5 separate regions of the Homo sapiens genome follow, and regions 1, 2, 3 and 4 are each linked to region 5. Evidence: promoter capture Hi-C in 16 types of primary human blood cells and fetal thymus (Javierre and others, 2016). All regions are on one chromosome and are shown on one strand. The core of a region is centred on a gene start or on the middle of the fragment in contact, and the rest is flanking DNA. Distances in the headings are between cores, read along the strand shown. Region 1 has its middle 15 kb from the start of LINC02730. Region 2 overlaps IGSF9B (immunoglobulin superfamily member 9B). Region 3 has its middle 16 kb from the start of IGSF9B. Region 4 overlaps IGSF9B (immunoglobulin superfamily member 9B). Region 5 holds the start of THYN1 (thymocyte nuclear protein 1).

The links. The method cuts DNA at HindIII sites, captures the fragments that hold promoters and counts their contacts. A CHiCAGO score of 5 or more calls a contact.
Region 1: a contact is called between a fragment that was not itself captured here and the fragment with the promoter of THYN1 in region 5, in 6 of 17 cell types (activated CD4 T cells, naive CD8 T cells, non-activated CD4 T cells and 3 more). The highest score is 8.3, in activated CD4 T cells.
Region 2: a fragment that was not itself captured here is called in contact with the fragment with the promoter of THYN1 in region 5 in 6 of 17 cell types (non-activated CD4 T cells, activated CD4 T cells, naive CD8 T cells and 3 more); the score reaches 11.0 in non-activated CD4 T cells.
Region 3: a contact is called between a fragment that was not itself captured here and the fragment with the promoter of THYN1 in region 5, in 1 of 17 cell types (non-activated CD4 T cells). The highest score is 6.6, in non-activated CD4 T cells.
Region 4: a fragment that was not itself captured here is called in contact with the fragment with the promoter of THYN1 in region 5 in 2 of 17 cell types (non-activated CD4 T cells and total CD4 T cells); the score reaches 7.4 in non-activated CD4 T cells.

What each region holds. Positions count from the first base shown.
Region 1 is chr11:133,991,802-133,994,559 of GRCh38, reverse strand. No RefSeq gene overlaps it. Among named protein-coding and RNA genes, the nearest start is that of LINC02730, 15 kb to the left of the region's middle. RefSeq lists an enhancer at 425-925. The HindIII fragment of the contact is 158 bases long and covers 1,331-1,488 here.
Region 2 is chr11:133,919,417-133,922,116 of GRCh38, reverse strand. IGSF9B (immunoglobulin superfamily member 9B) reads left to right here. Exons shown (of 20, transcript NM_001277285.4): 18 at 720-2,375. Among named protein-coding and RNA genes, the nearest start is that of MIR4697, 22 kb to the right of the region's middle. The HindIII fragment of the contact is 9,648 bases long and covers 1-2,700 here.
Region 3 is chr11:133,971,215-133,973,914 of GRCh38, reverse strand. No RefSeq gene overlaps it. Among named protein-coding and RNA genes, the nearest start is that of IGSF9B, 16 kb to the right of the region's middle. The HindIII fragment of the contact is 9,581 bases long and covers 1-2,700 here.
Region 4 is chr11:133,902,549-133,905,297 of GRCh38, reverse strand. It overlaps IGSF9B (immunoglobulin superfamily member 9B), which reads left to right. Exons shown (of 20, transcript NM_001277285.4): 20 at 1-2,749. Among named protein-coding and RNA genes, the nearest start is that of MIR4697, 5.3 kb to the right of the region's middle. The HindIII fragment of the contact is 7,551 bases long and covers 1-2,749 here.
Region 5 is chr11:134,251,976-134,254,701 of GRCh38, reverse strand. It overlaps THYN1 (thymocyte nuclear protein 1), which reads left to right and starts at 1,350. Exons shown (of 7, transcript NM_014174.3): 1 at 1,350-1,862. The coding sequence starts at 1,820. It overlaps ACAD8 (acyl-CoA dehydrogenase family member 8), which reads right to left and starts at 1,134. Exons shown (of 11, transcript NM_014384.3): 1 at 993-1,134. The coding sequence starts at 1,101. RefSeq lists an enhancer at 1,220-1,589. The HindIII fragment of the contact is 5,608 bases long and covers 1-2,726 here.

The DNA of each region.
Region 1 (2,758 bases), core at 160-2,659, 260 kb after region 5:
CTTTCAACCTCGCAGGCTTTCCTTCACTGTCTGCTACCTTTGCTACCCCTCTGCTCTATAATCTTCAAGGATTTTTCACTGCTGAAGGCATCACGCCTGAACTCCTTTCCTTGGCATTTAGGTGCTGCACAGTATGGCTGCGTTTCCTCCTCTCCACTCAGGTATTTCTCCTCAGTGGCACCCCCCTCTGGCACCCACAAGGGAGAAGTAAAGATCTCCTAGTGGTGGCAGAGCCCATTATCCAACCTGGAGAGAAACAGATCATTCCGTAGGCTGACGCTATAATTAAAGGTTAAAGGTATAAATCTGCTGCGCAGATATGATGAAAAGAAAGCATCTCTTAGACTGGGTAGGTCTTTAAATGTAAGCTCCAAGGTGCATGTCCCTGCAGCCTGGAGGGCTGGCGCGTAGGTTCCTGACAGGCGCCAGGGGCCTCTGGTGACGGCGGTGCCCATGTGGCCACTCGCCAGGGCTGCACTGTCTGGAATGGTAGCCACTAGCATATCTGTTTCTTTACATTTTTTTTTTTTTGAGACGGAGTCTTGCTCTGTAGCCCAGGTTGGAGCGTAGTGGCGTGATCTTGGCTGCAATCTCCACCTCGTGGGTTCAAGCAATTCTCCTGCCTCAGCCTCCCAAGTAGCTGGGATTACAGGCACATGACACCACCCCTTTTTGTATTTTTAGTAGAGATGGGCTTTCACTATGTTGGCCAGGCTGGTCTTGAACTCGTGACCTCAGGTGATTCACCCGCCTCAGCCTCTCAAAGTGCTGGGATTACAGGCATGAGCCACCATGTCTGGCCTTTTACATTTAAATTAATGACGATGAAATAGAATTCGAACCTCAGTTCCTCAGGCACATTGGCCATGTTGTAAGTGCTGAGAAGCCCCCTCTGCTTGGCTAGTGGCTGCCATATTGAATGTCTCCATCACTGCAGAAAGTCAAACTGCAAAGCACTGAAGTAGAGAGACCAGTCCCAAGTATGGATCCCAAAGCCCTTGGTCACAGCTGGTTAGTGACAGAGCGAGGACTATGACAGAGAAGGCTGGGGCGAGAGGAGGCTGAGAGCCACAGACCCTTCCAGAAGGACAAAGGAAGCGTCCTCGTGGTTCATGGTGATTGTCTCTGCAATGCCTGGGGGCCAGAGAGAGTAGCCCCCGCCTCAGCTGGGAGGTGCCACCCAGGCCACGGCTCCAGCAGCCTGGGCTGCAGGCAGAAGTTTGGCTCTGCCCCCACACTCCCGGAGCCCCACCCCAGGAAGGCACAGTGGCAACACCACACTGAAGCTACGACTTCAGTCTGAGGTTCACGTGAGCCCCTGGTCCAAGCTTCCAAGTGGTTTCAGCAAATATATTAGATATGCTTGATTGAAATGTGTAGATCAAATGAAAATACATGATACTAGAAAGTTTGACTACAATCTACACTGCAGTTTATATTATTGTAGTCTATCGCTTCTGTGCAAATAAGTTATAACATAATAAAGCTTGCTTAACTTGAAGAAAAAATGAAACACCTATGGATTTGACACAATTTTTTTAAATTTTATTATTATTATACTTTAAGTTTTAGGGTACATGTGCACAAGGTTCAGGTTTGTTACATATGTATACATGTGCCATGTTGGGGTGCTGCACCCATTAACTCATCATTTACATTAGGTATATCTCCTAATGCTATCCCTCCCCACTCCCCCAACCCCACGACAGGCCCCGGTGTGTGAGGTTCCCCTTCTTGTGTCCAAGTGTTTTCATTGTTCAATTCCCACCTATGAGTGAGAACATGCGGTGTTTGGTTTTCTGTCCTTGCGATAGTTTGCTCAGAATGATGGTTTCCAGTTTCATCCATGTCCCTGGGATTTGATACAATTTTATTGAACAGAAGTCTTAGATTCTGAGGACATGGAAATTCCAGCAGCCAGCAGGGCCATTTGCACCCGCAGAAAGAGATGCACTGTGTTAGGAGAAAACAGTTGTCTGCATTTTCTGTTTTTTTGCATTTCTGTCTCATATTTTAAGAATTCCCTTTGAATAATTTCAACCTTGTATCAACTGATCTAAGAAAAACAAATGTTCACACTTTGCAGAGACAGGTTAGTGATCAGATTAACATCTCTAAACGGGGGAGAGGGTGACAGTGGTTCTTCTGACTCCTAATGACCTAGGGCAAGGCTGAGGCAGACTGTGATACCAGCTGGGATTGACACCTGGTGATCCTTTCCTGCCTGGGGTGTTCCCTTCCAGAGAGCATCACGAAGGTGTGGCCTCAGGCAAAATTGTGAAACAAAAATCTTTGTCTCCAGGACTTCCTTCCCCTCCTTCTTCCTAGATACCCTATTCCGGCTTTTTCTCCTCAGGTATTTGATCTACTAGGGTGATAAAATGGCAGTGCGGAAATACTAATGTTTTACTCCTCCCAGGTTGCATATGAATAATAACATTTACATTTTTAACACAAAGCTCTGGAGACAGTGCCAGAATCAAAGGCAGGAGCAGATATCTCGAGTCTCAGCAAGTGGGTGTCTACCTGCGTGCCAGCCGGGCCAGCTCACTGCCATTTCTGAATGCATTTTCTTTTCTTTCTTTTTTCAAATTTCTAATTTTTATTTTAAGTTCAGGGGTACACGTGCAGGATGCGCAGGTTTGTTACGCAGGTAAAGGTGTGCCATGGAGGTTTGCAGCAGAGACCATCGAATCACCCAGGGATGAAGCCCAGCATGCATTGGCTGTTCTTCCTGATAGGCTCCCTCCCCCGACCC
Region 2 (2,700 bases), core at 27-2,526, 330 kb after region 5:
CGCTCGCCTTACCCAGCCCCATGTTAGTGTTTCTAAGCCATTTCTTCTTGATTGACCTGTGTGTTAATTGTACTTGCCCAGCCCCATCTCAGTGTTTCTAAGCCATTTCTTCTTGATTGACCTGTGTGTTAATTGTAAGTTGTCCACGCTGGTAGAGGGAGTGGCAGTGCAGATGATCCAAATTAGCCAGTAATCAGTTTCTCTTCAGCCTTGGAATGTATTTCTTTAGTGTTTTCCCACCCTAGCAGATTTGCCTCCTTAATATGTGTTGCTTAAGTTGATATTAAAGTGAGCTTGCTTGTCTTGAAAAGAGGGGAATGAAGCTGGAGGTGTGCTTAGAGCACAGCAGAGAGGGGGCAGGCCAGCACAAAAGTGAAGAGGCGGGTGTTCACTGGAAAGACGGATGATGGGGGGGGCCGGGCGCGGCGGCTCACACCTGTAATCCTGGCACTTTGGGAGGCTGAGGCAGGAGGATTGCTTGAGGCCAGGAGTTCAAGACCAGTCTGGGCAACATAGCAAGACCCCGTCTTTAAAAAAAAAAGGAGGATTCACGTCCAGACGGTGGAGAGTTGGCCAAAGCATTTCACACCACGATACACAGCCAGTTTTCTTGAGCGTGAGGATCCTGGGTGCTGGGTGGTTGCCGAGAGAGGGAAAGGAAGTCCTGGCCAGCACACTGCCCCACCTCATCCCCTCCCGGCTCTTGCTCCTCCTTGCAGCTTGTCCTCTGGCAAGGTGAGCCCCGAGAGCATCCGCACGCTCCGAGCGCCGTCAGAATCCTCCGACGACCAGGGCCAGCCCGCGGCCAAGAGGATGCTGAGCCCCACCCGTGAGAAGGAGCTGTCGCTGTACAAGAAGACCAAGCGGGCCATCAGCAGCAAGAAGTACAGCGTGGCCAAGGCAGAGGCCGAGGCAGAGGCCACCACGCCCATCGAGCTCATCAGCAGAGGCCCTGACGGCCGCTTCGTGATGGACCCTGCCGAGATGGAGCCCTCGCTGAAGAGCAGGCGCATCGAGGGCTTCCCCTTCGCCGAGGAGACGGACATGTACCCCGAGTTCCGCCAGTCGGACGAGGAGAACGAGGACCCACTGGTGCCCACATCTGTGGCCGCCCTGAAGTCCCAGCTCACCCCTCTGTCATCCAGCCAGGAGTCCTACCTGCCACCACCAGCATACAGCCCTCGGTTCCAGCCCCGCGGGCTGGAGGGCCCCGGTGGCCTGGAAGGTCGGCTTCAGGCCACAGGCCAGGCCCGGCCCCCTGCCCCCCGGCCCTTCCACCATGGCCAGTATTATGGGTACCTCAGCAGCAGCAGCCCTGGGGAGGTGGAGCCGCCCCCGTTCTACGTGCCAGAAGTGGGCAGCCCCCTGAGCTCCGTCATGTCGTCCCCGCCCCTGCCCACCGAGGGGCCCTTTGGCCACCCCACCATCCCCGAGGAGAATGGAGAGAATGCATCCAACAGCACGCTGCCCTTGACTCAGACACCTACAGGAGGGCGCTCCCCTGAGCCCTGGGGCCGGCCAGAATTCCCCTTCGGGGGGCTGGAGACCCCAGCGATGATGTTCCCCCACCAGCTGCCACCCTGTGATGTGCCCGAGAGTCTGCAGCCCAAGGCCGGCCTCCCCCGAGGACTGCCCCCCACCTCCCTGCAGGTGCCCGCGGCCTACCCGGGCATCCTGTCTCTGGAGGCACCGAAGGGTTGGGCAGGCAAGTCGCCCGGCAGGGGCCCTGTCCCAGCGCCCCCCGCCGCCAAGTGGCAGGACAGACCTATGCAACCTCTGGTAAGCCAAGGGCAGCTGCGACATACAAGCCAAGGCATGGGCATACCTGTGCTGCCTTACCCCGAGCCGGCTGAGCCGGGGGCGCACGGCGGCCCCAGCACATTTGGCCTGGACACCCGGTGGTATGAGCCCCAGCCCCGGCCCCGGCCTAGCCCTCGGCAGGCCAGGCGCGCCGAGCCCAGTTTACATCAAGTGGTGCTACAGCCCTCCCGGCTCTCACCTCTGACCCAAAGCCCCCTCAGCTCCCGCACCGGCTCCCCTGAGCTCGCCGCCCGTGCCCGGCCTCGCCCGGGCCTCCTGCAGCAGGCAGAGATGTCAGAGATCACCCTGCAGCCGCCGGCTGCAGTCAGCTTTTCTCGAAAGTCTACGCCGTCCACAGGCTCCCCCTCCCAGAGCAGCCGCAGTGGGAGTCCCAGCTACCGGCCCGCCATGGGCTTCACCACTCTGGCCACCGGCTACCCTTCCCCTCCACCCGGCCCCGCCCCTGCTGGGCCTGGGGACAGCTTGGACGTGTTTGGACAGACGCCTTCCCCTCGAAGGACGGGGGAGGAATTGCTCCGACCGGAGACCCCACCACCCACGTTACCTACTTCAGGGTGAGTGCGCCGCCTCTTCCGCCACCCGCACCTGGGCAACTTCCTTCCCCCACCCGCCTCGCCCTGCCCTCCACCCCGTCCATCCGCCCGGCGACAGGGCTCGTGCGGACATGCCGCACCGGCGTCCCTCGGAGAGGAGTTCTGGCCGCCGCGGTTTGGGCGGGGTGCAGTCGCTGGGGCGCAGCGGGCCCACCTGCCCAGGTGCCCTGCCGGGAGCATGAGGCGTCTTCTCCGGCAAGCCCTGAGCTCTCGGCGGGCGCACCACCTACCAGGGAGCGGCGGATCACAGCGCGTGCCCTTGCGGGGGTGGACCCCGTCCCTCTTG
Region 3 (2,700 bases), core at 17-2,516, 280 kb after region 5:
GCTCTTGGACGTCAGAGCTGCCACTGGCCCCAGAGAAGCCTCTAGAGACCTGCAGATGGGAGAAGAGACAGTGGAATTCAGGGAGCAGGCAGTCAGATGGAGAGGCTGTGCAGGCTAACATTTCGAATCTTGGAAAATGAAGCATGAACACTGGAGACTCCTGCAAGCCTGTGATGACCATGATAGCCACCAACAGCTAGGGCTGCAGGAAGAACACCCCCTCCCGTTTGTCTGCCAAATCTTGTGCAAGTGCGCGCGATGGGTGGCATCTAATCCACACCCAGAAACATAGTGCAAGGTGTTTTGGGAAATGCTTTCCAACCTTGTGGTGTCGATGGTGGAATGCTGGGAGTGAAATGGTGGATGAGCGAGCCAGCCACAGGGGTCTTCCACAGGCTTCTCTCCACTACTCTGGCCTGCAAGAGATCACCGAATGGCAAATCCCTCTCAGTCCACGCAGCTCTTACTGGCGGGGTATGGGGGCCCGAGCGGAGTGGGGGCAGAGTTGCTGGTCCTTAAGCCCTCCGGGATGGTTGGAAAAGCTCTGTATGATCGAGGACAGGAAATAGGTTACACAGAGAAGGTTCAGACCACGGACATGGAGACCATGAGGACAGAGACTTCGGCTTTATGTGCCAGGCTTCTGATTCCAGTGCTGGGGCCAAGTCCTGAGGTGTTGATGGGGCACAGCACTGAAGACGTCCTCCCCAGATCATACACATCTATCTTCAGCTGCTGTAAGCCTGCAAATGCAGCTTATCTGGGGGGAGGCGGAGGCCAAGAACTCACTAGGAATATTAGTAATATATTAGTATAGTAAAGGGAAATTAGTAGACAAAATTAGAGACAAAACTCAAATAAGGCTTCTTCCATAGATTGACAGACATCTGACTTTTTCAAGATCTTCCTTTTGCACAGGGAAGGCCACGGTGCCCTTCACCCTCTTCCAAGGGTCAGATAACCCCCAGGTCTCACCCTCAGGCGCTGCAGAGCCTCGCACTGAGAACTGTGAGCAGAAATGCCAAACAGTGGCTCTTCCTTCAGACAAGCTGCAGACCAACCGTTTATTATTGAAATGGCTTTCCTTCCACTTCATGCCAACCGGTGAACATTCTGGGGAGGGAGATTTTACTCTCTTTAGAGAGAATTCTAGAGCTGTTCGGCAGAGAACCGGCTCTGTGATGAGGCCTCTGCTCCTCCGGTGTCCTTGGGCATGGTATGTTCGGTGTGAGGGACAGTCCCTTGCTGGGAATGTCATTAAGGAGAGTTGGGCACCGAGAGAATGTGGGCTGGAGGGACTCGAGGATCTCCCAGAGCTTTTCTCCTGATATTCTGTGTTTCTGTGACTTAACCTGGAGATGTGCCTGGCAGGAAGCCATTGGCCATTGGCGGGGAGTAGAGAATTTGACCATAAGGAAAGGAGCAGTGGAGTCTGAGGCCTTGGGTGTCTGCTCGGGCTGTATTGGATGGCTGGTCCTGCTCTGTCTTCTTTCTCCTCTATACTTGCCATTCATGTTCCCATTCTGTGTGGGAGGGGAGTGAGCTGGTGGCTGTCATTCTGTGTTGGCATCTGTAGGGATTGGCACCTCCTTTCCAATGGTTTGGGGCCTCAGGTGCAGATGCACTCCAAGCTCCTCTGAGGACTGAGGTGTAGAGAGAGCCCAGCTGAGTTATAACGGGCTTTGTCTGGTGGAGAAGTGGCTGGGCATTTCTCCAACACCCCAAAGGGATGATGGGGCAGGGTCCATTGCAGGGGAGGGCACGCCACAGGCCTCCACAACGGCAGAGGAGTTTTGGCTCGGAGGTGTGTGTCGCAGGATGCCGGGCCCCTCCCACCGTAACTGATGGTGGGTGTGCTCACACGTGGAGCTAGGAGAGCAGCCGGGGAGGGGGCTGGGATGGGCTAGAATCCAGCTCCTCACTTGGCCAGAGCATGCTTCCTGTGAGCCTCAGAGTGTCCTCTTCTCTAGCCAATGGCATGCGTCTGTACCCCTGCATATGAGTGGGCCTGTGTGCTTTTTGTGTACGTGCATGTAGACATGCATGAAAGTGTCTGTCTATATCAAGCTATGTATGTGTCTACATGTGGATACCCATATGTGGCCCGGTGCATTGTGTGTGCATGCTGATCCATATGCTTCTTGGGCAAGGGGATGAATGCATGTGTGTGTGTGCATGTGCATACATGTGTGCATGCACATTCCAAGTTTGCACGTGCAGGTCTCTTGCCGGGCTTTGCCTTGGGCCATTGGTTCCTAGAGGGTGAGTTTGGGTTTGTCCTCCATGCTCCAGGGTCGATGGCATTGATCCAAGAGGAGTGAAGAATCAATTGTAATTTGGTTGGAGGGCCTGGCACCAGAGTGTGTGAAGAGTAATTAGAGGGAGAGGAGCCGATGCAGAGGGCTGGGCCCACTGCTCTTGGTAGGGGCTGCAGGCCTGTGGGCAGATGGGGGCAGCGTGGGCGGAGCAAAGCCTCATTCAGCAGGTTCCGGGACTCTTCATGTGAGTGCTTGATGCCCAGCACAGCCTCCTTTCCTTTCCTGGGCTCAGGACAAGCTCCGAGAAAAGCCCACAGGGAGTGTTGGGGTGGAGGCCACGCTGCTTGTTTGCTGGTCTACAGCGTGATGGGAACAGCATCTCCTGACAGACACCGTGTCTTTCACCACCAGGCGTCTCTTACATGATAATAGAATCACACGT
Region 4 (2,749 bases), core at 180-2,679, 350 kb after region 5:
GGAATCTGTTTCTTCCTATTTTGTTAGCAAAAGCCTTTTCCAGGCTTGGGGGTGGGGTGGGGGAAGAATTGTACATAAAGTACATTTTATTAATCTGTAGAGAAACCTAGGAAAAGAAAAGCTAATGGTTAATCTTGGGCTTGCTTTGCTTGCATGTAAAGGAGCTTTGGGGGCACTGCAGGGATGGCTGGGGAGCTGCAGGAAGGGGCAGAGGGTGGAGCTGAGCGGGTCATGGAAGGCTCTGTTGAGTCCAGCCTCTGTGGTACTCTAGGAGCTGTGCACATTCCCACCGGGGCTTCTAACCCAGCCCTGCCTGGGTATCTTCTTCATATAAAGTGGATCTAGTAGGCAGTGTGTAGAGCCCCATGTGGCTGTGTGTGTTGCTTTAGGGAGAGGGCCAAAGAGGTGCCTTATTGGCCAGCTCTAGATTGACTAGGGTAATGGATGGGGCACTGGTGTTTCAGGAGGGGGAGTTGGAGAACTGGAGGGTGGAGGGGAGGCCTGTGTGCTTTGCCAGGTGTTGGTGAGGCTGGAAGGGGCACAGAGGGTGAGGTCAGGCATGGGTTAGGATGGTGAGACCACCCCAGGGGACACCAAGCCTCAGCATCTCTTTGAGTCATGTGATAACTTAGTTACTTGTAAGGGTGCAGGGTACACACTGGGGGATCATCCCAAGATGACGAAGAATGATTGCCTGGTGGGCATCTGGCTGGGGAGTGGTAGCCATGCAGGGCATGTGGGAGGGGGATCTGGGCATCAGGGACGGATTGTGGGGTGGGGTCCTGCATGTGAACGCAGACTGGATCTTGGGAGAGGTCTTGCTTCTTAGCTAGATCTTCCTTGCTTCTTCTAGAATTAGCCTCTAACACTAAGTGCCCAAACCAAACATGGACATCTTCTTTATATTGTATTTCAACTTCATTTGTTTTGGGGGCTCCTCAGGCCCAAAGCTGAGAAACTTGTCTTGAGATGCCCATCCTATCACCAGCTCTTCATCAGTGGAGAAGGAAGTGCCATTCTCATTTTCCTAAGCTGCAGCGGTGGGTTGCCTCTCCGTCCACAATCTGAAAATGTTCATGGGCCTTGGTGATGGTGATGGTGATAGAGAGGGGGAGCTGGAGCCTGACGTGCCTTCATCCCCCTTTCCTCTTGAGGTAGAGAGGCTTCCTTCCGGCCATGAAGTTGCACAGTGGCTTCGTGAGGCCTTCTCTTTACTTTCTCTTCTTTTGATAGGCTAAAGTCACTAGTCTGTGGTGGAGGTGGGAGGGCAAAAGAGTTTCACCTGAAACTCTTGGCTTGACCAGCCATTCTTCTCTCTTTAATGTCTCCAGCTCTGCTTCTTTTTAGATTAAGAGGCAGAATGAAAAATCTCTTCTTTAGAAGAAGTCAGTAAACCAAGGATCAAAGCCCAGATTGGACTTTCGCACTCTTACCAGCTTGCTGTTTGGCTAGGGGTACCAATCACCACCCTTCCCTCTGACTGCGAGTGAATCCACACTGGTTCAGAGCCTTATTTCTGGGTTCCTGTCTGTACTCTCAAAACCTTCTTTCAGGAGCAAGTATAATAACCCCACCAGATGTTCTGTGTGTTGGGTTGCCGAGAAGGTGGAAGTTTTTTTCAACCTCATTTTAAGCTGTTAGAAAAACACTCAGTAGATTGAATTTGGTCCAAAGACACCACCATCCCCTGAGGGATCCCATGTAGGATAAGGATAAATGAAGCATCCATACAGGGGTCATTAATGGCTGCTCACATCTTAGAGAAGGAAGAGTCTGGGTATCTTGGTTGCCATATACTCTGGTGGAACAGTGGCCAGTCATTAAAATCACATGGGTGTTGTCTTCTGCGGTGTAGAAGACAGTAGTAGTAGTTAGGGTTTCGGACGAGAGCTGGTGAAAAGCTACCGGCTTTGGAGCCCTGGCTGGGAGAGCTAGATTGGACAGTTTTAACCCCGTGGCTCAAATGCTCAGCTCCTGTCACTGGTCCTTGGTTGTCACCATTCCCATCACACTAGATGGGGACGTGAATGGCTGCCTGGGCCTGCCTTTCTTTCGGGTCTTGAAGAAGTGTGCTCCACCAATCCTACCTCTCTGTGGCACTGGATTTCCTGGATTTATTTTGCGAACTAGGGCAGGTTCTCCCTCGCCACCCCGTATACACACCAGTTAGCTTCCCTTCCCTTTTCCTTTCCCCACTTCTGTATGGCTCCAGGGATCGTGAACATGTGCGTGGTTTACGATGGGGAGGTGGTGGGAGGGGCAGGGAATCTCGGAGGGCAGGGGGTTGGGCTGGGGAGGTGACTTGCATTTTCGGCCTTAGAAATGCTGCGGGCATGCACGTGTGGGGTTTTCATATAAGCCATGGGAGGGGCGAGTGCCCAGCCCTCCTCACGCTGGTGGTAGAACCCAGGGCTTTGGCCTCCTTTTGGCATAGTGGTCTATGAAGCTGTATTTCTGGTGGAGGGATGAGCCTCCTCACGGTCATCTTGCAGTTCTTGAAAGGGTAGTTGTCAGCCACTCTATCAATGAGGTTTTATATGGCCTCCCATGAACAACGAGAGGTGTGCCATGGCCGACGGTGTCCTGGCAGGGCTGGAGAAGGGATTGTCTCATGTGTCCTTCTGCAGGCACCAGGTTGTCCCCCTGGTCTCTAACCCCCAGCCAGCTGTCTAGTCCAGTGTTTCTTTTCTGGATTCAGGAAGTAAGTGGGGTGTGTGTGTGTGTGTGTGGGGTGTGTGTGTGTATGTGG
Region 5 (2,726 bases), core at 101-2,600:
AATAATTCCTTATCTGCTTCGGTATCAACCAGGGTAATCTGGGTTATCAAATTCTAAGCGCTAGGCCAGGGCAGCACCTCTTGAATGAGTTTTAGGACATTCAGAAGAAAACAGTATTCTATGCCTTACTGTACTTTATAGATCTGATATCTAAGGGACTTATTCTGTTGTAAAGAAAACTGCCATTTATTTAAAATAAATTTAAAAATATTTCAGAAGAAAAAAGTGTTTATAAACATTCTTGGCAGAGAAGTCACAAACTGGCCGGGTCTCCACCACTCCTCGCTACATTCAAATTACTGTTCAGAGCCTAAAGACACTCAAGTTTGTCAGCTCTGGTAGAGTTTCCCACTGGCAATAATAATTATTTTTCCTGCATGAGTTTCAACACTAAAAGTGTCTTATAGCCAGAGGTGTTAAGATACCAAATCTTTGTGTGTGAGCAAATCTTGTATGACCTGGAGTTCTTGTGCAGTTGTCACCATCAGCACCCAGCCAGCTTCTTATATTCTCACTGCTTTTATGACCTACTGTTATGATTAAAAACCAACCAACCCAACAACAACCAAGCCCCAAGTTTCTTCACTTCTCTAAGCATCCGAGGGTGACCGGCCGCAGGAGGACCCGGGCCGGAGGGGAACCTGCGGGGGGATGACCGGCCGGAGGGGAACCTGCGGGGGGTGACCGGCCGGAGGAGGACCGGGGCGGGGGTGACCGGCCGGAGGAGGACCGGGGCGGGGGTGACCGGCCGGAGGAGGACCCGGGCAGGGGTGACGGGCCAGATGGGGACCCGGATGGTGGTGACCGACCGGAGGGGGCAGCCAGGCCGGGGGTGACCGGCCGGAGTAGGGAGCCAGGCCGGGGGGGTGACTGGCCGGAAGGGGAGCTGACGCCGGGGTGACTGGATGGAACGGGGAGACTGCAGCCCCTCGCGGACATATGTCCGCCGGGGTTCTGGACACCTGTCCTACTGCCCGCCAGGAGATCCTTACGGTCGATGCAGGAGGTCAAGCTCCGGTGGCCGGTCTGGACGAGGACCCGGAGACCGCCGGGCAGGCAGCCGAGGCGCGCCCCGAAACGCCGGCAGCCGCTCCACAGCATAGCCGCCGCAGCTCCGCGTTCAGCTAAGAGTCTGAACGCCTTCGACCTCCGTTGCGCTCGCACTGGCGGGACCTGCGACCCGGCAACGCCTGTCCCACTGCACCCTGGGGGTTGTAGTCCTCCCACGAGCCCTAACAACCCAGGTGCCAGGCGGGCTCCCAAGGGGACAGGACTACAATTCCCAGAAGTCCTCGGGGCCTCGGCGCCGCAGAGATGCACCGCCCACCAAGCGCCGCGGGGGTCGCGCTGCACAGCCTGCGGCGCAGCGGAGGCGGACCGCAGTCGAGTCTGCAGAGTGTTGGGTCTGTAGCCAGCAAATTACTTCATCATCTAGATTATCCATTCAGTTGATCCTAATTAGCAAGGATAACAAGGTAACACAAGGCTTACTTATATTCACCCAACAAAAGTGTCTCTGTGGAGCCACTTCCCAGTGAACTACATACTGAGATAGGGGTTCCTGGATGAGAAGGACCAAGGACAGAACCGAGAAGAGTTTAGGGGCAGGTTATGCGAGATGGAAATGGCGCAGATAACGGAGGGAAGGATTTGAGGGCTCAAACGTAGGCGTCTGTGTTTCGCAAAAGTTGGAGACGTTCTAGGCTGCCTCTCGTTGCCTCCATCTCGCTCTGCGCGGGTTTTGGAGGACATTAGCATTCTTTCTTGTATCTCCGTTGATTCCAGAATCGTCCGCACTAAAGTCCCCTGCAGCGTGACCATGTCGAGACCCCGGAAGAGGCTGGCTGGGACTTCTGGTTCAGGTGAGCTGCCCCTAGGCTGCACAAAGGCAGCCCAAGAAAAAACTTTTCTCGAAGAGCCTGTTTAGTACTCATTTTTCACTCCCTGCTTTTTGAGAACCCTTTGTGATATTTTTACTCCATTATCCTTAATCACTCTCCATCTTCTTTACTTGTCTCACCAAGCTCCTACCTACAGTTCCTTTTTCTTGTTTATTCAGGCAATGGTTGTTGTGCACAAAGACTCTTTGAGATACCAGGTGGCGTGCTAAAGAATATAAAGCGCCTGCTTGCGGGTGAACTGCAAACAGATGTGATGGGGTTCAGGAAAATGGATTGTTAAGTTTATGGAGGGAGGAATCACGGGGAAGGCCTCGAGAAGGATGTGGAATTTGAGCCCAGCCTTGAAGAATGGGAGACTTTCCACGGGCAAAGTTTAGTACTAAGAAAACGTGATGTCGTTTTTATAATCACAAAGATGGATGGCATTCTAAGTGGATGGAGGAGGAGGAACATTGGAAGGTACAGAAAGTACCTCTTTTGGGAATGACAGGGGTTCCAGATATACTACAGCACATTGCAGTTATTTATCAATATGTGGTGTTTGCAGTGGGCCTGTTAACTCCTAAGGGGCCATTAGGAAACTAGGTTAGGAAGGTATGCTGGGTTCAGAGCATTAGACAGCCATAAATGGTATTTAATGACAATTGATGTAGGGACTTTGACTAAATTCAGAGGCAGTATAGTCATTAAGTAGCTTCAGATAGACCTCAGTGACAGGTGCTGACCTCATATCTTGATTCCACCATTACTGGATGTGTGATCTGGAGCATGCTTCCCAGATGAAGAGTAGAACATCTCACAGGTTATGTAGATTAACCGAGTTAG